Regions from separate parts of the Homo sapiens genome. Here regions 1 and 2 are each linked to region 3. Evidence: promoter capture Hi-C in 16 types of primary human blood cells and fetal thymus (Javierre and others, 2016). All regions are on one chromosome and are shown on one strand. The core of a region is centred on a gene start or on the middle of the fragment in contact, and the rest is flanking DNA. Distances in the headings are between cores, read along the strand shown.

Region 1 (3,803 bases), core at 1,074-3,573, 260 kb after region 3:
ATTAAATGTGGGAAATACACAGGCAGTGGCATTGAACCCACCAAAAATGTCATCAAACATTGTGAGCAATGGTATATCCATGACTGACATACTGGGGTCTACTTCCCAGGACGTGAAGGAATTCAAAGTCCTCCAGAGTTCTGCTAACTCAGCAACCACCACGTCCTACAGCCCCAGTGTCCCTGTCTCATTCCCAGGCCTGATACCCAGCACTGAGGTGAAAAGAGAAGGCATTCAAACAGTGGCTTCCCAAGATGGAGGGTCTGTAGTGACTTTTACTACACCAGTGCAAATTAACCAGTATGGCATTGTCCAGATCCCCAATTCCGGAGCAAACAGCCAGTTCCTTAATGGGAGCATTGGATTCTCTCCACTGCAGCTGCCCCCTGTGTCAGTGGCAGCTTCACAAGGTAACAATCTCATTTGGTACCTTAATGCACCAGCAAATGTGTTCATCAGCTGCTGTAAGTGACGCATTTGGTGATAGCTATAGATTGATGTTTCTGTTCAGGTACCTTATTAGCTGCCGAAGCTGTAGAGTAGCCTTGATGTGATTCTCCTCTTTCACAATACCCATGTCATATCCAGGTTGCTTTATTCCCTTGCATCATGAGGATGGGCTTTTATTTTACTAACAACTGAATGGAAAAATACAGTTCATAGCAAGTCCTGCCAGTTCTACAATTACAGAAATATGATAAGTCAATCAGTGCTTACAAAATAACTCACTGCTTGGCATTTTAATATTAAAAATTAATAAAATTGCTAAGAACACAAAATTAGTCTAGCAGTTGGTAAGAATGCATACACTTTACCTAAGCATTATTTATTTGACCAAAAAATGTTTTAGAAGAACAAGCTAAAAAGACCGGATCAATTATGTTTGAATCCTGTTTCCTCCTATAATGAAGACTAACAGACCTAAAAGAAAATCAGAGGAATATGCCATTGGATTTCTATCGCTCAGCATATATACTAACCCCCTAAATGTGTGGGTTTATTTGTGAAGATAATAGTAAGCCTTATTTTATATGTTTGTGGCTTTACTAACAGCAATCTTCCAGAGAAAGCACTTAAATGAAATTCAGGAAAACTGAGGCTGATATATTAGTTCTTCACTGACTTTAAGCAAGCCTGGATCCTCTATGTCATTTTCTCTTTAAAGAAATAGAAATGGTTAGAATTTGGCAGTGGAGTTTGCATAATCCCTTGAATTCAGGAAGGGTAGATCTTAATGCACGTTTGCCTTCTTGTAGACAAATCTGAAAATCCAGATTTTTACAAAACCAAAGTAGTAATTGTTGGCTTTAAAGGTCTGCTTCCTATAAGATGGTTTTACCACCCCCCCAAAAAAATCAATTTATGCACAACTCTCTTGTTACCACAACTATGGTCTATGTCAGCTTATTGAAGGAATTAATGGAAAAATTGTTCTAAATTTCATTCTGTACATTTGCATTTCTTTAGGCAAAATGGTACTAAAACAAGACATTCCTGCAGCATACTATTCAGTTCATCATTGTTCCAAGTTATGGAAAGAGTTAAGTTACTATCTAACATAGGGCAAAAATATGAAAACCACAGGGAAAGCCAAAGTGCTTAGTTTGATAATAATTTAATGTGGATCTAACCCCTTTTCTCTCATTTGGAAAATTTCCAAACAGGTCACATTTTAAAGGCAACAAATTTGAGCAGAAAGAATGAGTTATGTATGTTGGGGGAGGAGAAAAGTAGAAATACTTTTAATTGTGTAATCTAGAGGAGCACTGCCATAGAAAATTATTATGAACTAATAGCTGAGTTTTTAAATGGGACATTTAATAGGAATAAGAATAGCATTTTCAGTTAAAATAAGTAAGATCAAATCTTAGACTGTCTGGGTGAGTTGAACAGACAGTCTAAGTTTAACCAGATAGTTAAGTTTAATCCAGTAAGCAACATTTCTATGGTAGTTAGGTATTGCAGTTCTCAATAAAACATTTTGGGGATTCAGTTTTTTCTCACAAACAGATACTGAGCCATTCTTTAAAATGTCTTGACAAGATAGACTTATCTTTCTATAGTTGGGATTTATGTGGAAAAGTAGAATATCTACATCTTTTACTCACTTTACAGTCTGAGCAACTAAGATTATTATTATTATTATTATTATTATTTTTAGGCGGAGACTCATTTTGTCACCCAGGCTGGAGTACAGTGGCGCGATCTCGGCTCACTGCAGCCTCTGCCTCCCGTGTTCAAGTGATTATCCTGCCTCAGCCTCCCTAGTAGCTGGGACTACAGGCGTGCATCACCATGACCGGCTAATCTTCGTGTGTTTAACAGAGAGAGGGTTTTGCTATGTTGGCCAGGCTGGTCTTGAACTCCTGTGATCTGCTCACCTCAGCCTCCCAAAGTGCTGGGATTACAGGCATGAGCCACAGCGCCTGGCCTGATTTTTTTCTTATCATTACAAAGTAATGCTTTGTATCTATATGGTTTTTCAGTTGGATTTTTTTATCTTAAAATTGTTGTTCAATTTTTACTTCAGTTGTAGTTATGCTCAAAAATCAAATTTTAGATCAAATTCTCTTTTATATATGTTATAATTTCTACAAATTCAGAAGTATTTATATTCAGTAGCAGTTGGGGAAAATGTTGCATGTATTATGCTATTTATGGCTCTATAAAAAGATAACTAATCATTTTGTTCATGCATACATTGGCAAACAATTTCATAAACATACACACAATAAACTAAACATCTATTTGAGATGTTTTTTTGCCACAAATCAGCTGCCTACAAGAATTTTAAAGACGCCGGGCACAGTGGCTTACGCCTGTTAATCCCAGCACTTTAGGAGGCTAAGGCGGGTGGATCACCTGAGGTCAGGAGTTCCAGACCAGCCTAACATATTGAAACCCCGTCTCTACTAAAAAAAACAAAAATTAGGCTGGCATGGTGGCACATGCCTGTAATCCCAGCTACTTAGGAGGCTGAGGCAGGAGAATCGCTTGAACCCAGGAGGTGGAGGTTGCAGTGAGCCGAGATCACGCCATTGCACTCCAGCCTGGGCAACAAGAGCAAAACCCCTTATCTCAAAAATAAATAAATAAATAAATAAAAATAAGAGTTTTAAAGCATACTTAAGTTGAAGGCAGTGTTTTCAAATAAAAGCAGTTTTTTCATATGTGTGGTCTGAAACAGAAATGTAAGAGAATAACTGAAACATACTTAGAAATGTTTTTCTTAACACTGGTATTTCTGTGATTAAACTTTCTAGTTAAATGTTTTAAAAGGGTTCATATGCAGTGTTTTCTTTTTACTTGAAGACATTCCTTTGCATTAAAAATATTTGGAAGACATAAACAGCCCTGTGGCACTTATTTATCAATAGAGGTGATAATATAATCACAATATTCTAATACTTCAGGAAGGAAAATGTTTTAGGTGAATTAATTACCTTTAACATTGGGCTGCTCTCTCAAAAAAGTAGTTTACTGAGGCCAGATGTGGTGTCACGCCTGTAATTCTAACACTTTGGGAGGCTGAGGCAGGAGGATCACTTGAGCCCAGGAATTCCAGACCAGCCTGGGCAACATAGTGAGACCTCATCTCTACAAAAATTTTTAAAAAATTGGCCAGGCGCGGTGGCTCATGCCTGTAATCCCAGCACTTTGGGAGGCCGAGGCGGGTGGATCACAAGGTCAAGAGTTTGAGACCAGCCTGACCAACATGGTGAAACCCTGTCTCTACTAAAAATACAAAAATTAGCCAGGCATGGTGGTGCGTGCCTGTAATCCCAGCTACTCAGGAGGCTGAG
Region 2 (3,420 bases), core at 862-3,361, 270 kb before region 3:
AACCTCTCAGTGGCTGAACACTGATATTTAAATCAAATGTTTAAAAGATCCACTTTCACTCTGCTTCCTTTATATCTTTTTTTAAAATATGCTAGACCTTTTTTTAAAAAATGGCTTTTTTAGAGAAGTTTTAGGTTTACAGAAAAATTGAGCAGAAAATATAGAGAGTTCCCATCTACTTCTTGCCCCACATGCCTACAACCTCCCCCACTAACAACCCACCAAAGTGGTACATTTGTTACAATCGATGAACCTACATTGGTACCCGAGGTCTGTAGTTTACCTTAGGTTTCCCTCTTGGTGTCGTACATTCTATGAGTTTGGACAAATTGTATAATGACATGTATCTACCATTGCAGTATCATGCAGAATCGTTTTACTACCCTAAAAATCCTGTGTTCTCCACCTATCCGTCCCCTCCTCCCCCTAACCTTTGGCAACCACTGATCTTTTTATTGTCTCCATTGTTTGGCCTATGGAGACAGAACGTCATATAGCTGGAATCATACAACATGTAGCCTGTTCAGATTGGTTTCTTTCACTCAGTAAAACGCATTTAAGTTTCCCATATGTCTTTTCATGGCTTAATAGCTCATTTCTTTTTAATTCCTAGATAATATTCTATTGTCGGAATGTACTGTGGTTTATTTATTCACCTACTGAAGGGCATCTTCATTGTCCCAAGTTCTGGCAATTATGAATAAAGCTGCTATCAACATCCGTGTCCAGATTTATTTATTTATTTATTTATTTATTTATTTATTTATTTATTTTTGAGACTGAGTCTCACTCTATCGCCCAGGCTGGAGTTCGGCTCACTGCAACCTCTGTTCAAGTGATTCTTGTGCCTCAGCTTCCCGAATAGTTGGGATTACAGGCGCCCACGACCGTGCCTGCCTAATTTTTCTATTTTTAGTAGAGATGGGGTTTCACCATGTTGGCCAGGCTGGCCTTGAACTCCTGACCTCAAGTGATCCACCCATCTCGGCCTCCCAAAGTGCTGGGATTACAGGCATGAGCCGCCGTGCCCAGCCATGCAGATTTTTTTTGTGGACATAAGTTTTCAATACATTTGGGTAAATTGCCATTGGTGGGCCAAGCGTGGTGGCTCACGCCTGTAATCCCAGCACTTTGGGAAGCCGAGGTGGGTGGATCACGAGGTCAGGAGTTTGAGACCAGCCTGACCAACATGGTGAAACCCCATCTCTACTAAAAATACAAAAATTAGCTGGGTGTGGTGGCATGCACCTGTAATCCCAGCTACTCAGGAGGCTGAGGCAGGAGAATCGCTTGAATCCAGGAGGCGGAGGTTGCAGTGAGCTGAGATTGCACCACTGCACTCCAGCCTGGAGACAGAGCGAGACTCTGTCTCAAAACAATAAAAAATAATAAAAAAAAATTTGCCATTGGTGGAGCAAATGGTAATCTCTATACCTGTTTATCATGGTCTTCACACTTATGTCAACACTTCCCTTTTTTTTTTTTTTTTGGAAAGCTTCGCGTTACAAATTTGCACATCATACTTGTAAAGGACCATGCATACTAATCTTCTCTGTATGACTCCAATGTTTTTTTAAGTATATGTGCTGCCAAAGTGAGTGTGTACAAAACAGACACCTTCTTACATTTAGAACTTGCATTCGGATAGACTGACTCCTCCCCTGCTCCCTGGCTCTAGCACTCATTTCTAGAGAAGGGCGCTGTGTCCCAGCCATAATTGTTAGAGGAGAAGCAACTATACAGATGAAGCTGCAGTCACTGTTAAAGCTTCTTTAACTGGAGACCTAAGTGGGGATAGGTGGTTTTATAAGTGGTTTATCTAGAATTAGACCACACCATACACAATAAATATGCTGCTTATAATGCCAGGGTTTCCAGTTGCTTGTTGTCCATATAAATTGAACCATCGAGGCCAGGCACAGTGGCTCATGCCTATAATCCCAGCATTTTGGGAGGCCGAGGCAGGCGAGTCACCTGAGGTCAGGAGTTTCAGACCAGCCAGGTAAACATGGCGAAACCCCGTCGCTACCGAATATACAAAAATTAGCCGAGAATGGTGGTGCATGTCTGTAATCCCAGCTACTTGGGAGGCTGAGGCATGAGAGTTGCTTGAATCCGGGAGGCAGAGGTTGCAGTGACCCGAGATCAAGCCACTGCACTCAGCCTGGGCAACAGTGTGGGATGCTGTCTCTAAATACATACACACACACACATACATACATACATACATACATACATACATACATACATACATACATACATAAAACCATTGAATTAGGTGAGTTTTAACTTCACATTCTGAGGGGAAAAAGAAAAGAAAATATTTGCATTGCAGTGGTGAGGCAGGAGGTTTATTGGATAATTTTGTTAATTTTGATTCCCAGTACTGGACACTCTTCAAGAGGAGTTGGAATTTCTGAAGCATCTCCTTGCCCCTTTTGACCACATAAGCTTTCCTTGTTCAGGCCCCCTCAGATGGTATTGATAGTTACGGTGCTGGTAAGCTGGTATGAAGTCTGAGGGCCAAAAAGCACCCCCTCCATCTGCCCTTCCACAGGTTGAGTGGTTGGCAGCCAGTATCTTAGCTTTGTTTATGCTGCTCTGGTTTTTCTGTCATTAACATCCTTTTTCTGACTAATGATTTTTTGACTTGCAGCAAATAGTTTTCCAAAGGATAAACCAACTCCAGATTATTTTGATGGTTGAGGTAACATGCCAAATGTGAAATGCAAGTTTTCCAGTAACTCTAGGTGGGTGAGTTCCAGTTGAATGGATGAGGTTGCATTTTAGATATGGGTCAACCCACCAGGACAGGAGTGCTAGAGAACACCAAGAAGATAAAGACATCTAGAGGATATTGATTTTAGGTGATAAATAATGTGGTCAGGGGATATAACTCATGAGAACTGAGGTATGTTTGACTCATTTCGTTTAGCACTCCTATTTCTTAGAAACACACTCCCAGACCATACAAGGAAGTCTTACAGCTGCACCACTGTGAAATGACACTGGATGATTACATCTCCAAGTTGATGGAGTATCCTGTATTTGAAAGCCATTTTAGAATTATAGAAAATAAGGCCCATGGGGACATGGAGGTCAGCCTACCAATGCCAGTATTTCCAGATGATCTCTACTGTTGTCTTCAGGTAACTGTGTAACTTTACCTCGTCTACTGCAGGGTGTTTTAAAAGCCTCCATAAGTCAGATGCTCTATGGCTTATTTTTTCTGTTCAATTCCTTTCTTTCTTTCTTTTTTTTTTTTTTTTTTTTTTTGAGATGGAGTCTCACTCTGTCTCTCAAGCTGGAATGCAGTGGTGCAATCTCGGGTCACTGTAACCTCCGCCTCCAGGGTTCAAGCGATTCTCCTGCCTCAGCCTCCCAAGTAGCTGGGATTACAGGCACATGCCACTATACCTG
Region 3 (3,890 bases), core at 1,209-3,708:
GTGCTAGATGCTAAGAATAAGGTCCAGTTATAAAGGATTTTTCTATTTTTTAAATTTTTTAGACAGGATCTCACTCTGTCACCCAGGCTAGAGTGCAGTAGCCCAATCATGGCTCACTGCAGCCTCAACCTCTCAGGCTCAAGCAGTCCTCCCAAGTAGCTAGGACTACAGGCGCACTCCACCATACCAGGCTAATTTTTGTATTTTGGGCAGAGATGGGGTTTCACCATCTTGCCCAGGTTGGTCTCAAACTCGTGGGTTCCAGTGATCCGCCTGCCTTGACCTCCAGTTGTAAAGGATTTCAGTTTAGTGGGAACATTAATTTCCAAACATATCATTGTAACAATTATAATAACAGAATGAATATACAAAGTACTATGAAAGCACAGAATATCCAGGATTGTCTTCTATTTTGGGCAAACTGGCCTACAAGCTAAGTCCTGAAACATAAAAAAGAACAGGCACAAAACACATGTCTGGCCTCTGAAAGTGAAATAAGACTACTTAACAATACAAAGAGACAGCGAGGAATGAAAAGATTATGTGTTGTATTTGCACTCACAAAATTGCTATTTGGAAGTTAATCTGCATGGCTTTGATTCACTTTGGCCAAGGAGATACAATGAATATGCCACTCTTAAGTGTCATATTTCATTATAAATGAAATGTGGATCAAGTTCCCATTTTTAAAAACTAGTCACACTTCTGTGTATTTAAGAAGCTATGTAGTAGCCCTCCAAGGTACACACTAGCAACAAGAATAACAAGAAAAATGCTAAAACCCCAGAAATAACTAACTAGAAATTGTATAATAGCAGCTTCTGGAATCTATCTCTCTACTTCTCCGTATATTATCAAAATGGAAAAAAAAATTTGATGCTAAAATATGAAGACTCACCTAAATCCAAAGACACCGGTATTAGCCAAAACATAAGCTAAGCCAAGGATGCCACTTCCCATGATGGCATTCATCAAATTAAACACTGATAAACCAAATGAAACACCTGGGGATCGCTGTCTGTGAAGTTCCTGTAAGCACACAAATTTAGTAGTGTTAAATGTTTGGACGGTGAAGTTAAAATTTCGTAAAGAAATTCCATAAATGAAAGATTATGGAAAAAAGCTGCAAACCACCAGGGTTTGTATGACACACTCGTTGCTTAACCAACACTAATTTCCTTTCCTTTCCTTCCCACCTCCCACTACTGCAGCTCCAGGAATCTAGGGTTTCTTAGGAAAATGATTTCCACCAGTACACAAGACAGGCAGAGTTCAGGAAGGGCCATGACTAACCTTGTGACTGCAAGAGATGAAGATAGGATGGGAATGGAGTGGGGAGAGAGAGGAGGGATAAGGCCTCAGCTCATGTGATTACTAAAGAATTGCTGAGTCAACCTGGGACTGCTGTGGGCAGTTGTTTCTCCTCAATTACTAGGACTGCACAACTAATCTCTACTTATATATCTAATGAATTAGTTCTACCAAACTGGAAGGATGGTCAGGAATATCTTGCAATGACAATATTATAAACAGAAGCAATTCACGTTGTTCTGGCAGTATCCCTGAAAACATCCCCCTCCCCACAAACAGCACCGGGAACAAAGTCCTGGGAACAGTGTCTAGGACTCGAGTTAAAAAGCGGAGTGCCCACTGCACAGGCTTTAGGGTCAGGAACGTGCTATGCACTTACTACCAAGCCACTTCCATTCTACCGCTAAGAATTTCTGTATTAAAATGTTTATTATTTTCCCTCCCCCCATGACTAAGTCGGAAGAGGAAAATCCTGTGACTCTTGCAAAGACCTCACGAGACTGGTGGAGAAAATAAGGTGACAAAAATACTAACTAACAGCAGTGAGTACATAATCCTAGGGCCGCTCATCCCATCATGTTCGCAGCTTCCACTCAACGCTGCATCTCTTCCACCCGACGCTTTTCATCTTTTCTTTCTAGAGTATGCTAGGCTGCTATCACGTTCATAACTGCGCCAATCTCATCTGAATCTCGGCGGCTGCCTTCAGACCCCATCCCCCAGGGTTCAGGCTCCAGCATCTCCCCTGTCCCGGTGCGGTCCTCCTTTTCTGGGTCTTATTTGGCAGGCACTTGAGGGAAGCCGGAGGGCGTCAGCGCGGGGAAGCGAACACAGCCCACTTACGTTGCTTAGCAACGGACTCAACTCTTCGGCCTCCGCTTCTTCAGGCTGCTGGACAGAGACATACCAGCCCCGCTCAGCGTTGAAGCTCCCCCAGGACGCCTCCATGCTGCTCTCCAGCTGACTACCAGTTCCATCTACGAGCCTCTACCCCTGCCCTGCGCTCCAGTCGTCGGTCGCGCCAGAGGCGGAGCTTTGAGCCCGGCCCTTCCGGCATTCCGTACTTCACCAGGGCCTGGAAGGAGAGGAGCGAGTCGACTTGATCTGATGACGCGCGCCCTCTTCGCGGCGAACAGTGATGATGTCATAGAAGACCCGCCCATCCACCCGCGACCCACATCCGATCGGTACCGGAGCGGGAGGTGAGGGGTCGGCTCGCGGATCCAGCTGCAGAGCGACGTGGGGAATTGGAATGGTGCTTTGGTGAGGTGGCGGCCGCGTTAGGGGCTAATGGTCCAGGGGAGGTACCAGCCCGCCCAGGGCTGCTCTCTGCCATGTGCTGCCTGGGCACAGAAACATCGCGAGGTCACCCACCCGCCTAGGTGCTGAGCTTAGTTTCGAGGTTCTGGATAGTAAGGAATGTTTCAAAAGCCTTTCGCCACATTTTACTGGTGGGAAAACCGAGACTTATAGTAATTTATCCAGGGTCACCCAGCTGGTCAGCTGCTAGAACCAATTTGATCTCTGACGGTGAAGTTAGACTTCGTTGCTTTACAGGATTCTGGGACAGGGCCCTTTCCCCTTACAAGTAAATTCTTTGGTATTTTAGAAGACAGTGAATAACTGATACTATGCATATAACAATCAGCAAAGCTCTCGTCCTCAAAATACAGAAGCCTCTAGTTAAAGGCAGGACATGTGGCAGTAAAGCATCGAAAACAAACAACAGAGCAATATATTAAGAACACAAGCACCGAAGTCAGTCAAAACTAGGTTTTAATCCATGTTTAGCCACTTATCAGCTGGGAGACTTTGGGTGGGTTACCTTACGTCTGAGCTTTAGTTTACTTATTTACAAAATGAGGGTGCAATACTGCACACCTCCCAAGATTCATAATGTACATAAAGCATTTAGCGCAGTATCTGACACAATAAGCACCCATGAGACTATCCTAATAAATATCACCACTAGTAATGGTCATGTATAATGACTATTTCATTTACAGATGACCATTTAACTCATACTTCAGTCTTCCAATCCCAAATGTATTATCTAGAAAATTGTGGGTGAAGAGGATCATTGAGTATGGCTAATGGATCACTAAGCCCTCTGAACTGGGAGCAGATGGGTTGAAGGTGTAAATTTAATATATACCACTATTATCTACCACTAATACGACTTCCTGAAGAAGTCATCCTAGTCTGGAAAAGATAGTATACTTCCCACACATCACTAAACGTTTTATTTGTCAGCATTTAGCCCGTTATTTGAGATAGTAGAATTTAGATTTTTATTCTCAAAAGCTGTCGTGTGTGAATTTTTTTTTTTTTTTTTTAAGGATCTTATGGAGGCCATTTGGATTCTCAGGAAGATTTCTGAAACTGGAAAGCCATAGCATAACTGAATCAAAATCGTTGATTCCAGTAGCTTGGACATCCCTGACACAGATGCTTTTGGAAGCACCTGGTATTTTCTTATTGGGTCAAAGAAAAAGATTCTCAACCATGCCAGAAACAGAAACACATGAGAGAGAGACTGAATTGTTTTCACCACCTTCTGATGTCCGAGGCATGACAAA

The links. Contacts are between HindIII fragments. The CHiCAGO score rates a contact against its expected background, and 5 or more counts as called.
Region 1: a contact is called between a fragment that was not itself captured here and the fragment with the promoter of TRMT5 in region 3, in 5 of 17 cell types (endothelial precursors, naive CD8 T cells, erythroblasts and 2 more). The highest score is 9.6, in endothelial precursors.
Region 2: a fragment that was not itself captured here is called in contact with the fragment with the promoter of TRMT5 in region 3 in 3 of 17 cell types (M2 macrophages, endothelial precursors and M1 macrophages); the score reaches 11.5 in M2 macrophages.

Annotation. Positions count from the first base shown.
Region 1 is chr14:60,716,367-60,720,169 of GRCh38, reverse strand. It overlaps SIX4 (SIX homeobox 4), which reads left to right. Exons shown (of 3, transcript NM_017420.5): 2 at 1-410. Among named protein-coding and RNA genes, the nearest start is that of SIX4, 6.1 kb to the left of the region's middle. The HindIII fragment of the contact is 4,804 bases long and covers 1-3,803 here.
Region 2 is chr14:61,247,592-61,251,011 of GRCh38, reverse strand. It overlaps a transcript of PRKCH not described here. Among named protein-coding and RNA genes, the nearest start is that of TMEM30B, 32 kb to the left of the region's middle. The HindIII fragment of the contact is 684 bases long and covers 1,770-2,453 here.
Region 3 is chr14:60,979,647-60,983,536 of GRCh38, reverse strand. It overlaps TRMT5 (tRNA methyltransferase 5), which reads left to right and starts at 2,458. Exons shown (of 5, transcript NM_020810.3): 1 at 2,458-2,574; 2 at 3,651-3,890. The coding sequence starts at 2,564. SLC38A6 (solute carrier family 38 member 6) reads right to left here and starts at 2,292. Exons shown (of 16, transcript NM_153811.3): 1 at 2,155-2,292; 2 at 899-1,029. The coding sequence starts at 2,259. RefSeq lists an enhancer at 2,189-2,568. The HindIII fragment of the contact is 5,504 bases long and covers 1-3,890 here.